2 separate regions of the Homo sapiens genome follow, and region 2 is linked to region 1. Evidence: promoter capture Hi-C in 16 types of primary human blood cells and fetal thymus (Javierre and others, 2016). All regions are on one chromosome and are shown on one strand. Each heading gives the region's core, a stretch centred on a gene start or on the middle of the fragment in contact. The rest is flanking DNA. Distances are from core to core; before and after follow the strand shown.

Evidence for each region. Contacts are between HindIII fragments. The CHiCAGO score rates a contact against its expected background, and 5 or more counts as called.
Region 2: a fragment that was not itself captured here is called in contact with the fragment with the promoter of FIP1L1 in region 1 in 3 of 17 cell types (total CD4 T cells, monocytes and non-activated CD4 T cells); the score reaches 8.0 in total CD4 T cells.

The regions. Positions count from the first base shown.
Region 1 is chr4:53,373,836-53,379,249 of GRCh38, forward strand. FIP1L1 (factor interacting with PAPOLA and CPSF1) reads left to right here and starts at 3,806. Exons shown (of 18, transcript NM_030917.4): 1 at 3,806-4,088; 2 at 5,238-5,282; 3 at 5,390-5,414. The coding sequence starts at 4,004. It overlaps LOC105377654 (a long non-coding RNA gene), which reads right to left and starts at 3,905. Exons shown (of 3, transcript XR_007058118.1): 1 at 3,824-3,905; 2 at 1,762-1,895; 3 at 334-762. RefSeq lists enhancers at 3,524-4,072, 3,874-3,963, 4,014-4,133, 4,073-4,621 and a silencer at 4,294-4,383. The HindIII fragment of the contact is 4,469 bases long and covers 671-5,139 here.
Region 2 is chr4:44,680,212-44,685,898 of GRCh38, forward strand. GUF1 (GTP binding elongation factor GUF1) reads left to right here. Exons shown (of 17, transcript NM_021927.3): 2 at 230-341; 3 at 483-631; 4 at 912-992; 5 at 2,123-2,200; 6 at 3,024-3,107. Among named protein-coding and RNA genes, the nearest start is that of GUF1, 4.6 kb to the left of the region's middle. The HindIII fragment of the contact is 1,070 bases long and covers 1,869-2,938 here.

The DNA of each region.
Region 1 (5,414 bases), core at 2,556-5,055:
AAAGTGCTGGGATTACAGGCGTGAGCCACCGTGCCTGGCTAGATGCTTTGACATTTGAAACCTCAATTTAGCTTTGTTATTCTTCCCCAATATTGGTACAAATGTCATTTTAATGTATCAATTTACTGCTGAGGAAACTTAAGAACATTGAGAATTTAAGAACATTGAAATTTATGTGACAGCAAAGAGCACAGTTGGGCATAAACATCATATGCATGCCAAACACATTTATGTGTACTTGCTATATATACTGGATAGTGAGCAAGGCATTTTTATTTGATCTCCAATTCTTGTCATCATTTAACTCATCATCATCTACTAAACACTCTCAGTACTTCTCAGAGATAAGTATATTAAAACTTATCTTTTAATTTTTTTTGCCAGAAACCAACAGACCACAAAACAACAATAAAATGGAAAACAAATAGAATATATGGAGCACTGTAGTTTGATAAGGTCATAATATAAGAAATGGAAGGAGGAATATATAATATCTTCAAACTACCTACCTTTGATGTCTCCCCTGGTGAGCAGGGAGAGAAAGATACCTTTAACTAAGAAAGCATATTCAGGCAAGAAACTCAGCTTAGAAGCAAGGAGGAAGAGGTCTTTTCAGAGTAGTTATTAGTGATTTATGTGCTTCTTTGCTTGTGGAAATCTTCATTTTCAAAGCTTAGCTCAAATGCTACCTCCACCACAAAAGCTATTCTAGTATTGTTCATCATTTCTTCAGTTATGTTTAAGCAATGCCTTGAAAGGCAGCTGAAAACAGAAAAAGATCCCTTAACAAAAGGCAATTGGTTTTCTCATGAAACCAATTAAATAAATAGAACGATCAATAGACAGGACTGTGAGTGATTGCCTTACGATACTCATAAACAGTCTATAAGACTTCATTCTATTACTTTCAACAGTGACCAAGAAGATTTACTCAGCGTTAAGCACTATACTAGGAATTGAAGTGATGGCTATGGGATGCCCTGTTTGGAGGTGGACTTGGTCTAGCGAAGAGCCTGAGGCAAACAGAAATATAGTCAAATAATTACTATACAGTGTGATAGGCACATGGCATAGAAGCAGCATGGTGTCTAGAAGGAGTGAGTTGCTCTGTCCCACTCACCCCCCAAATACATCTGACCTCATCTGCATTCTCTCTCACTCACTATACTTTAGCTACATTTTGAGTTTCTTGAACATGCCAAGTATGCTTCTACCTCAGGGCCTTTGCACTTCTTATTCCTCTGTTTGATAGTCTGTCACCCCGAAATCCACGGGGCTCACCTCCTGTCTCCATTCAAGTCTCTTGTATCACTTCATCAGAGTAGCTTTCCCTGACCACTCCATATAAAATTGCACCCCATCACTTCATTTTATATTGCTTACTCTTTTCACAATTCTTGTCATCATGACATATCATACGTTCATATGTTTATTATCTGACTCTCTTATTAGAATCAAAGCTCCACAAAAGAAAGAACTTTGTTTTATTCACTGTTGAATCTACATAGCTGGAAGAGTTCCTGGCAAAACAAATGGGAAGAGATAAAATGGGATTCAGGAAAGATTTCACAAAGGTGATTATACCCCCAGAGAGTTTAGAAGGATGCAAGAGATTATCATAAAAAGATAAGGGAGCTGGGAATAGCTGGCAGAAGTGTGTTCAAAGGTAAGAAAGATTAAAACCACATGGTTTGTTTAAATAATGTGAGATATTGGTTGGGCGTAAACCCTTCATTTGTGCTTCTATTACAACACATTCACCTCTTCTCTTGTAGGAGAGTTGTTTACTGCCCCTCTGTCTTTCTCAATAACTTCAGAGTTCTTTAAGGGGTGGGACTGTTTCACTCATGTCTTCATTTTCCAAGTTCTTAAACAGAGCAGATATTCTGTAATTGCTAAATAAATAAATGATAAAACAATATTTATTCATCAAGGAGCAAGAAAACTCATTTAGTTGTTCAATCAAAATGGATTTCTCTCTGTTGACAAGCGAATGCCCTGTTTGTAAACTTTATAAATGAAAGAGACCTCAGAGATCATCTAACTTGGCCTTTCCATTTTATAGATGAGAAAACTGAAGCATAGAAAGGTTGATTGCCTGACTATACAACCTGCTAGGTATAATGAAGAACTGAGGCCAGGCCTGGTGGCTCATACATGTAATCCCAGCACTTTAGGAGGCCTAGGTGGAAGGATTGCTAGAGACCACGAGTTCCAGACCAGCCTAGGCAACATGGTGAGACATTGTCTCTACAAAAAATAAAAAATTAGCCAGGTGTGGTGGCACCTGCTTGTCTGTAGTCCCAGGTACTCAGGAGGCTGAAGTGGGAGGACTGTTTGAGTCTGGGAGGTAGAGACTGCAGTGAACAGTGACCCTGCCACTGCATTTCAGCCTGGGTTACAGAGTAAGACTGTTTTTTAAACAAAACAAAACAAAACAAAACAAAACAAAACAAAACAAAAAAACAGGCCGGGCGTGGTGGCTCATGCCTGTAAGCCCAGCACTTTGGGACACCAAGGTGGGCAGATCACCTGAGGTCAGGAGTTCAAAACCAGCCTGGCCAAAATGGTGAAACCCCCTCTCTACTATAAATACAAAAATTGGCTGGGCATGGTGGTGCGTGCCTGTAATCCCAGCTACTTGGGAGGCTGAGGCAGAAGAATCGCTTGAGCCCAGGAGGTGGAGGTTGCAGTGAGCAGAGATCGCACCACTGTACTCCAGCTGGGCAACAGAGTGAGACTCCGCCTCAAATAAATAAACAAACAAACAAAAAACCTAGACAAACCTAGAGCTCCAGTTTGAACCATGGTATGTCATCTTTTCACTGGAAGATGTGCTTTCAGAAGCGGCCTGAACATTTGGTTTACCTATTAAAATAAAAACTGTACATACTTTATGATCTATCTTTGAGAAACAGACAAATCTGCAAGGAGCCGTGTGGATCTTCATTGTCATTTTTTGTTGTAGTTAAAAGTGTAAAGTCAAAAGCAATCTGGGTGTACATCAATGGAGAAATAGCCATATTCACTCTGTGATAGCCATACTATGCAATTTTATGAAGCACTTAAAATAGATATAGTTTGATTCATACTAAAATGAAAAAGAGCTCCAAGACACGGATGCTAAAAAAAAAGAAAAAAAAGGAAGTCGAAGGATGATACTATACTGTACTGTACTATTTAAGACTTGTCAATCTCAGGTTCTCCCACCAAAACAGCACAACACATGAAGTAAGTGTATAGGAAATTTCGGAATGATGAACTCCAAACAGGATATGCATCTGTAGCAAGGGCTACCTCCGGAGAGAAGGGTAGGGGAATGAGGCGGTCTTTGACCTTGACAGTAATTTATGGTTTTTAACAAGGAGAGTGCATTCTTCATCTATTAGTTTTGCTTTTGTTGGCTGTGAAAATTAATTTTTTGAGAAATAGTACTGATTGTGATTTCTTCTCTATTCAGTGAGGAAAGGGAGTGACAGGTAATGATTCTGTATCAAGGCTGATTAAAGAATAAAAGAAGGCCTTTCTGAAGATTAAAAAACAAATAAAAAGTTGAGAAGAAAGAGCACGAAGAGTAGAAGGGAACAATGGTGTACTCGCCAGCAATGGCAATACGGGTTATTAAAAAGAAGGGTGGGGGCGGGGAACCCTGGCCGACTCAGGACGCCACGGGAGGAAGCCACGCAAAATAGCAAACCGGGATCCTAGAGGGGCGGGGCCCACCTCAGCGCGCAGGCGCAACCAGGCCCAGGTGGCCGCCGCGGAAGCGAAGCCACCTATACGCGCCGCGCCGCTTGGGTCTCCTGCGCATGCGCAGACGGACCTGCGCTGGAGGCTTCATCTTTGCCGCCGCTGCCGTCGCCTTCCTGGGATTGGAGTCTCGAGCTTTCTTCGTTCGTTCGTCGGCGGGTTCGCGCCCTTCTCGCGCCTCGGGGCTGCGAGGCTGGGGAAGGGGTTGGAGGGGGCTGTTGATCGCCGCGTTTAAGTTGCGCTCGGGGCGGCCATGTCGGCCGGCGAGGTCGAGCGCCTAGTGTCGGAGCTGAGCGGCGGGACCGGAGGGGATGAGGAGGAAGAGTGGCTCTATGGCGGTACGAAACTTCCTGTCTCTGTCTCTCGGGTTCTCTCAGGCCTCCCCTCTTGGCCCTCAAACGGCCGGCGTCCCTGGCCTCTCGCGCCGCCGCTTCGGGCCTCTGGTTGGGAGTCCTGTCCGGCCTGACTTAGGCCGAGCGCGGCGTGCGCGTGCCCCCAGTCCCCGCGGCGGTCTCCCGCCTGGCCCACGCCCACCATGCGCATCCACCCCTGTGGCGGCCGGGCCGGGCTGGGGGGCTGTGACCGGTCCTGGCCCCCGGCTTCGCTGTGCTTTCCCCGAGGCGTCTCGATCGCCTAGCTGCTGCGCTCTTTACCCTTGTTTTTTTCTGTCGATTCTGAGGTGGTGGTTTTTGGTGTCTGTTTTTGCCCTGTGGCCTTAGGGTGCCCTTCCTGTCCCTTCTTTCAGAAACAGTCATTCTGTAATAATAGCTAAATAAAGTTAATGCTGTACAACTAACGTCTTGTTTCTTGATGGTCAGTTTGTATGGAATGCACCTGCAAGGGTACCTCCTTGTCTGAAAGTCGTGCTTTAAAAATAATTAATTAAGAGAGAGAGAGAGAAAGATGGCCCATAAAGAAAACTCTGAATGTCTCCTGTATTAAGGTGAAGTTATTCTTTTTTAAGAGACTACCGTTTAACCTACATCATGGAGGTATCTCATGACCCTTCGGCTTATAGTTTTCAGTGTCATCTCATGTATTTGTTTTTCTCAAAATAAATTTAATGCATCATGTACTTCTCTCTAGAAGGGTACTTGTTTGACATCTGGTTTTTAACTTTAAGTCACAATCCCTTCTTGCTTGTTAACACCAGATTTGAAAGTTAATGTTTGTTCCTTGCCTAAAACATATATTCTTGATTGTCTTTAGAATAGAATAGTAAAAGTGCACTTTGGGCACCATGCAGGTCCTTGATGATGTGACTTTGATAAACTTGTAAAAAAAAATCGTTTGGTGGCAAGATTTAGCATTAGTTACTACTCTTTGAAATGTGAATGTGTAGGATTTCTTTTACAAAGATCTGGAAATCTTCATTACCTCTTAAATTTAAGCTTATTTTTATAGCAGTAAAGTCTGATTTTTTTTTCCATAAAATAAGTATCTTGTTAAGTAATTATAAGGTGATCTAACTTTGGATGTGCTTATAGGCCCATGGGACGTGCATGTGCACAGTGATTTGGCAAAGGACCTAGGTTAGTGCTTGTGATGATCACTTCAGATTTTCATAATACTAGTTTCTTTAAGAGTGGTTTCTTTATTTTGTTTGCTTATTTATTTATTTGTTTATTTTACTTGGTAGATGAAAATGAAGTTGAAAGGCCAGA
Region 2 (5,687 bases), core at 1,154-3,653, 8.7 Mb before region 1:
AATGTTAAGGGATTATGATTTAGCTGTATAGTTACCTTTGGCTATTAAACTGATGTTCCTTGTAATATGAACTTAGCCATACATGTCTTTTTCTTAGAATAATAATATAAACAATATAAATGCTAGAAATGATATTGTTCAACGATTAAAAGAATATTCTTTGAATTGGTATACTTGTTTGATAGTATGCCAAATTTATACTCCTAAATGTGGTATTTCCCCTTTCTAGGAAAAACTTGACATGTCTAGGTTTCCTGTTGAAAATATTAGAAATTTCAGTATTGTTGCACACGTGGATCATGGCAAAAGTACTTTAGCTGACAGGCTCCTAGAACTTACAGGTATTTCATTTATGTTACATACTTAACTGATGGCTGCGAGTTATTGGGAATTACTTTTACTCTTAAATTTTAATTTTATAAGTAATATTCTCTTTTTTTTTTAAAGCCCAGAGAAATATCAATAAGTGTTTCTGTTTATAGGGACAATTGATAAAACAAAGAATAATAAGCAGGTTCTTGATAAATTGCAAGTGGAACGAGAAAGAGGAATCACTGTTAAAGCACAGACAGCATCTCTCTTTTACAATTGTGAAGGAAAGCAGTACCTTTTAAATCTCATTGATACACCGGTAAGTTTAATATTAATTTTGCATGTATTGTTAAAGTCAACATTGTGTCAGTAGTGCAAACAGATCCTTGTTTAATTTTTGAACTGAGTATTAAACATCTGCCTTTGCTTTTTGTTTTCTCAGTGTTCTTATGTTAGTGTCAGTTGTTTCAAAAGTGCAGGCTACAAAAAAGAAACGAATATTTAACAGCTTTTATCAAGTAAAGTCAATAAATTTGCCATAATGCTCTTTCCTAAAAAATTAACTCACATTTACAGGTATCAATATTTTTGTTTCTCAGGGCCATGTTGATTTTAGTTATGAAGTATCCAGGTCACTTTCTGCTTGCCAGGGTGTTTTACTTGTGGTTGATGCAAATGAGGTAGGTATTTTTCATTTTGTATGATGTGATATGACATGACTATTTGGTTGTTTCAAGAGTTTTTCTTTAAAATGTGTTTTGGAAATAGAATTTTTGTGTTTGAAAAATAGATTTAATCTGTTACTTACTGAAAATCATATGGTTTCATCCTGTTAATCTGAAATATTATTACAATAAAGCATTCTCTGGAATTGACTAGTTTTTAAATTGGAATTGTTCAAAAGATTGTTGTATTTTTTTGAAGTGTGACATCATATTGTCAATGCATCTTACCAAAAAAACCCCACCAACTTTAGCAGTTCTTAATCTGAGGTTTCTATATCCATTTTTAGCAGATCTTAAGAATAAATCATTAGTTTTCAGATCATTTTAGGTGATTTTAAGGCAATAATTTGGAAGTATTAGGTTTTTAAAAAATCAGTAACATTACTAAGCTCTTTTGTTGTGTAAGCCGTAAAGACACTCAGCAGATGACCATGTAAGAGCTGTGAATATAAACTTTTGTTACATGTTTCTCACAAACTCTTCATTCAAAACCCAACTTTTTTTTAGTGGTGGTGGTGACCGTGTTGTGTTAAGCCGTTAAGCCTTTCCTGATCCCATCAAGGAAAGTCAATCTCTACCTTATGTAGGCAGTACTGGCCTTTATAAACTACCTTGATGACTGTGTTCTCTAATAAGCTTTGAGGTCCTTGAGAGTCCATGTTACATCTTTTGTTTCTCCAATGCCTGATGTAGTTTCTGGCACAGAAAAGGCCCTCCAATAAATGCTTTCTGAACTGAAAGGAATTATTACAGAGGATGATTCAGATGCATGGAAAAATAGGTATCATAGTTGAGCTGCCGTGTACCTTTCCTTAAAGGCTTCCTATCTCAAGCTTAGTAGACTGTCTGTTGGCTCACTCTACTTGATGTGATTATTGCTTTACCATCAGCGATTTTCATATTGACCCCAAAGACATAAGTTGGAGAGAAAAGCATGAAGGGTAGCTACATGGCATTTTGTTTAATTTTATTATTAGCATAACGCAAAATCTCTTGATGAAGATGTATAGAATGGTCTTAAATTACAAGTTTTGTGATATATAATAGAATGGTCATCTCAGTATCTTGTATCTTGATATTTTCAGGGAATTCAAGCCCAAACTGTAGCAAACTTCTTTCTTGCCTTCGAAGCACAGCTATCGGTAATTCCAGTTATAAATAAGGTAATTACAATGAGACAACAGTGTTGCTATTTCACTTTCTAAAAGTACAATTAATGTTTAAATGTCAGTTGTACTATTCATTATATGAGGGATCACCAGCTATTTATTAAATATATTGGTGGGATTTATCTCTTTGAATTGTATATAACAGAAGTGCAACTGAAACTCACCCTTGCACAGAATTGAGAAGGTAGTTCTCCTGAATTAACTTGTGGTAGCTGAGGGCCATTTCTGTAGGGAAGGGAAGCAGGGCAGATGAAACATGTTTGTCAGATTAAACCATACATAGGAAAAGAAGAGAAGTTTATAATCTAGGAAGAAACAATACAACACATGAAGCATGACAATTTAGTGCTAAACTGAGCTCTGTCTATAAACTTCCATTTCATATTTTAAAATTAATTTAGAATCTTAATTTTAAAATCTGCATTGCTTTAATTATATTTCTTGATAATGGAGTTAAGTTTAAAAGAAGGCCATAGGTAAGACAGCTTGTTGTCAGACTTAATGTTGTATTTAACTTAACCTTTAAAATCAGTTCACATGCTGCTTAATTGATAAATTACTACTGATCTCTTCTGCTGCCCTGGGTAGCTAACTGCTTAAGTTTTTTTTGCAAGCTCTGCTACTTAACTTCTCTTTTTCAATCATGGTTATTAAATTATACTGCTAATATATAGATTATTTTACTGCTTTTGAAAAAATATTGTAGAGGGGTCAGTTAGGTTAAAGTGGGTAAGCTTTTAATTACCTCCGAATACTGTTAATACATAATACATCTTATCTTTATTATACTTCACATAATGGATTTTTTTTTTTAAAGATAGATCTGAAGAATGCTGATCCTGAAAGGGTTGAAAACCAAATTGAGAAAGTGTTTGATATTCCAAGTGATGAATGTATTAAGGTAAAATACGTTCCTAAAAAGATTATACTTTGAAAAAAGTCTCAAGTAATTGGGCTAAGTGAAATTTCATGGTATTTGATAACCTGGCATTATATGCTGTTTTTTATAGTTTTACAAACTTCTTTTACTATTATTTCCTTTGATCCTTATCAAAAGCCCTTTTTATATTGTTAGGACATACAGAAATTATTGCGATGCTGTAGTTAAAGGAACTGAGGCTCAAAGGTTTTATCACTTTCCTAAGATCACAGGTTTAGTTAGCCAATGTGCCAGGACTAAAACACAGGCCTTCTGAAACTCCCTGCAGTATTTCTTGTGTGTCAGTTTGCCCAGTGGAAATACTGTCTTTGAAGAGCAGGTTCAAACTAATTTCAGGGCTTTTGTATGTATCATTCTTGGAACTGACAAAAACCTATTTTATAAAAAGCTAGTTGTAGTGCTAGGAAACAATAGATTTTATTTATACCAAAGTTGCTACCATTTTAAATTTGAATTTTTATTTACCTTTGAAATGATGATCTGCTTGTTAAACAGCCACAGCCAAACTGCTATACTACATGGTAGTGTAAAGTATGTCAGCACAGCAATGTAATGTTTTTCTTTCAAGCTAATTTAATTTTCAAAAGAGCAAGTTATATATGGTTTTATATTTTGGATTATGTTATATTAAAATACAATTAACTATTCTGATTTTAATCTTAATAAAATTCATTCAGATTCTTATTTGGTATATGCCAGCTAAGAGTATGGCAGTGAATAAGACAGACAAGACCCCTTCCTTTCTGCAGACAGTCAATAAATAAGTAAACAAAGAAGTAAGCATAGGAATTATTGACTAGGATAGAGATTGTCAAGGAAATTCATTCGACAAATTGTTATTATTCTAGGTGAAATACCATCATTAACAGTGAAAAGTCTTTTTTCTTAGAGAGACGTTATGACATGGAATAACTTAGCAAAAGCGTCTCTGATAAACTGAAACGTGGAGGAATGAATAATTTTCAGAAAAACATTCCAGGAAGAGAAAAGAGCATGTGTAAAGGACTTAAATTAGGAAAAGATTTGGCATGTTTACTGATCAGAAAGGTTGATTGGATGAGAAGGCTTTGTAGGGGTATGCAGGAATCAAGTCATGCTGGGACTCGTGCTGTGCTGAAGAGCTTGAAAATTATTCTAAGACAATGGAAGGATTTTAAAGCAAGAGAAACAAATTAACCAGTCATTCAGGTAGCCTTACAGAGAATGGATCAAAGAGGTATAAGAAGAGATACAGGGAATCCAGCTATTAATGGTAGCCCAGATGTGAAATTACTATGGCTCAGTATTAACTATCCATATGAAAAGGAGATTATGATCCAGGAGGAAACAATATACATAAAACATAACAGTTCATTGCTAAACTGAGCACTGTCTACAAACCTCCATTTCATACTTTAAAATTAATAAAGAACCTTAATTTTAAAATCTGCATTGCATTAAATGATGTTTCTTGATTTGGAGATAAGTATATAAGAAGCACAGCTGCCCATAGGCAAGATAGCTTGTTGTCAGATACAAGAAACGAACCAGACCATTTATTTGATTTCTTTTTTCCAGTAATGTTAAGCTGTTCTGTATATGGGCATAGAAAAAACACATAATTGGATGCAGTCAAGGTTGAGGTTTTGTCAGCTGCCTCTAATAAGAAGAGAACAGAAAGTGGTTGAACCAGAGTGAATGTAAATGATGGATCTTGGAGTCCCATCTGGGAAAAGATAGAAACAGAGTGGAGGGTGAAGCTGATGGACAGCATCAAGTAGTATATTCAATAGTTACAAGTTAAGGACTATTGTAAAGAAAGTACTACAGTCTAGAGCAGTAGTTGTCAGTGGTGGGTGGTTTTGCCCCTGGGCAAATATTTGGAGATATTTTTGGTTTTCACATCTTGGGAGGGATGCTACCAGCATCTTGTGGGTAAATGAGGTGCCCTGGTTGCTGCTGAACATCCTGTAATGCACAGGACAGCCTCCCAAAACAAAGAATTATCTGGCCCAAAATGTCAGTAGGGCTGAAACTGAGAAATCCTAGTCTAGAGTGAATGTGAAGAGTAAGAAGTTTGAAGTCAGGATTTCAGAGATAGTCCATTTATTACCAGTGATAAAGGTCAGTCATACCATGTGGCTTGAGTGTTGGCTTGCTTTTCTGGTGTGAGAACACTAAAGTAGTAGTAAGATGCCTTATGGTTTTATGCCATCCACATACATTGTTTATCCACACAACAACCTTGAGATTTAGGCAGAATATGAATAATCACTTCATTTTTTAGATGATGAAATTTATGCTCAAAGAGATAGATACTGGTGAAATACATGGATTCAATGCAAAGACATGATTGTTACCCAGATTTCGAACTATTCCTCTTTCAATACCATAATTAGGACTCTCTTGTAATTCCATTCTAGAACTGTAGAACTACGTAACTATAATAGAAAAAGTATTTGTCAATATACTGTTTGCTTTGTTCTTTTCCTTTTGGTGTATTTCTCAAATTGATAACTATTGGAATTTTTTTTTCCTTCTGATCATAAGTCACAGGTCATC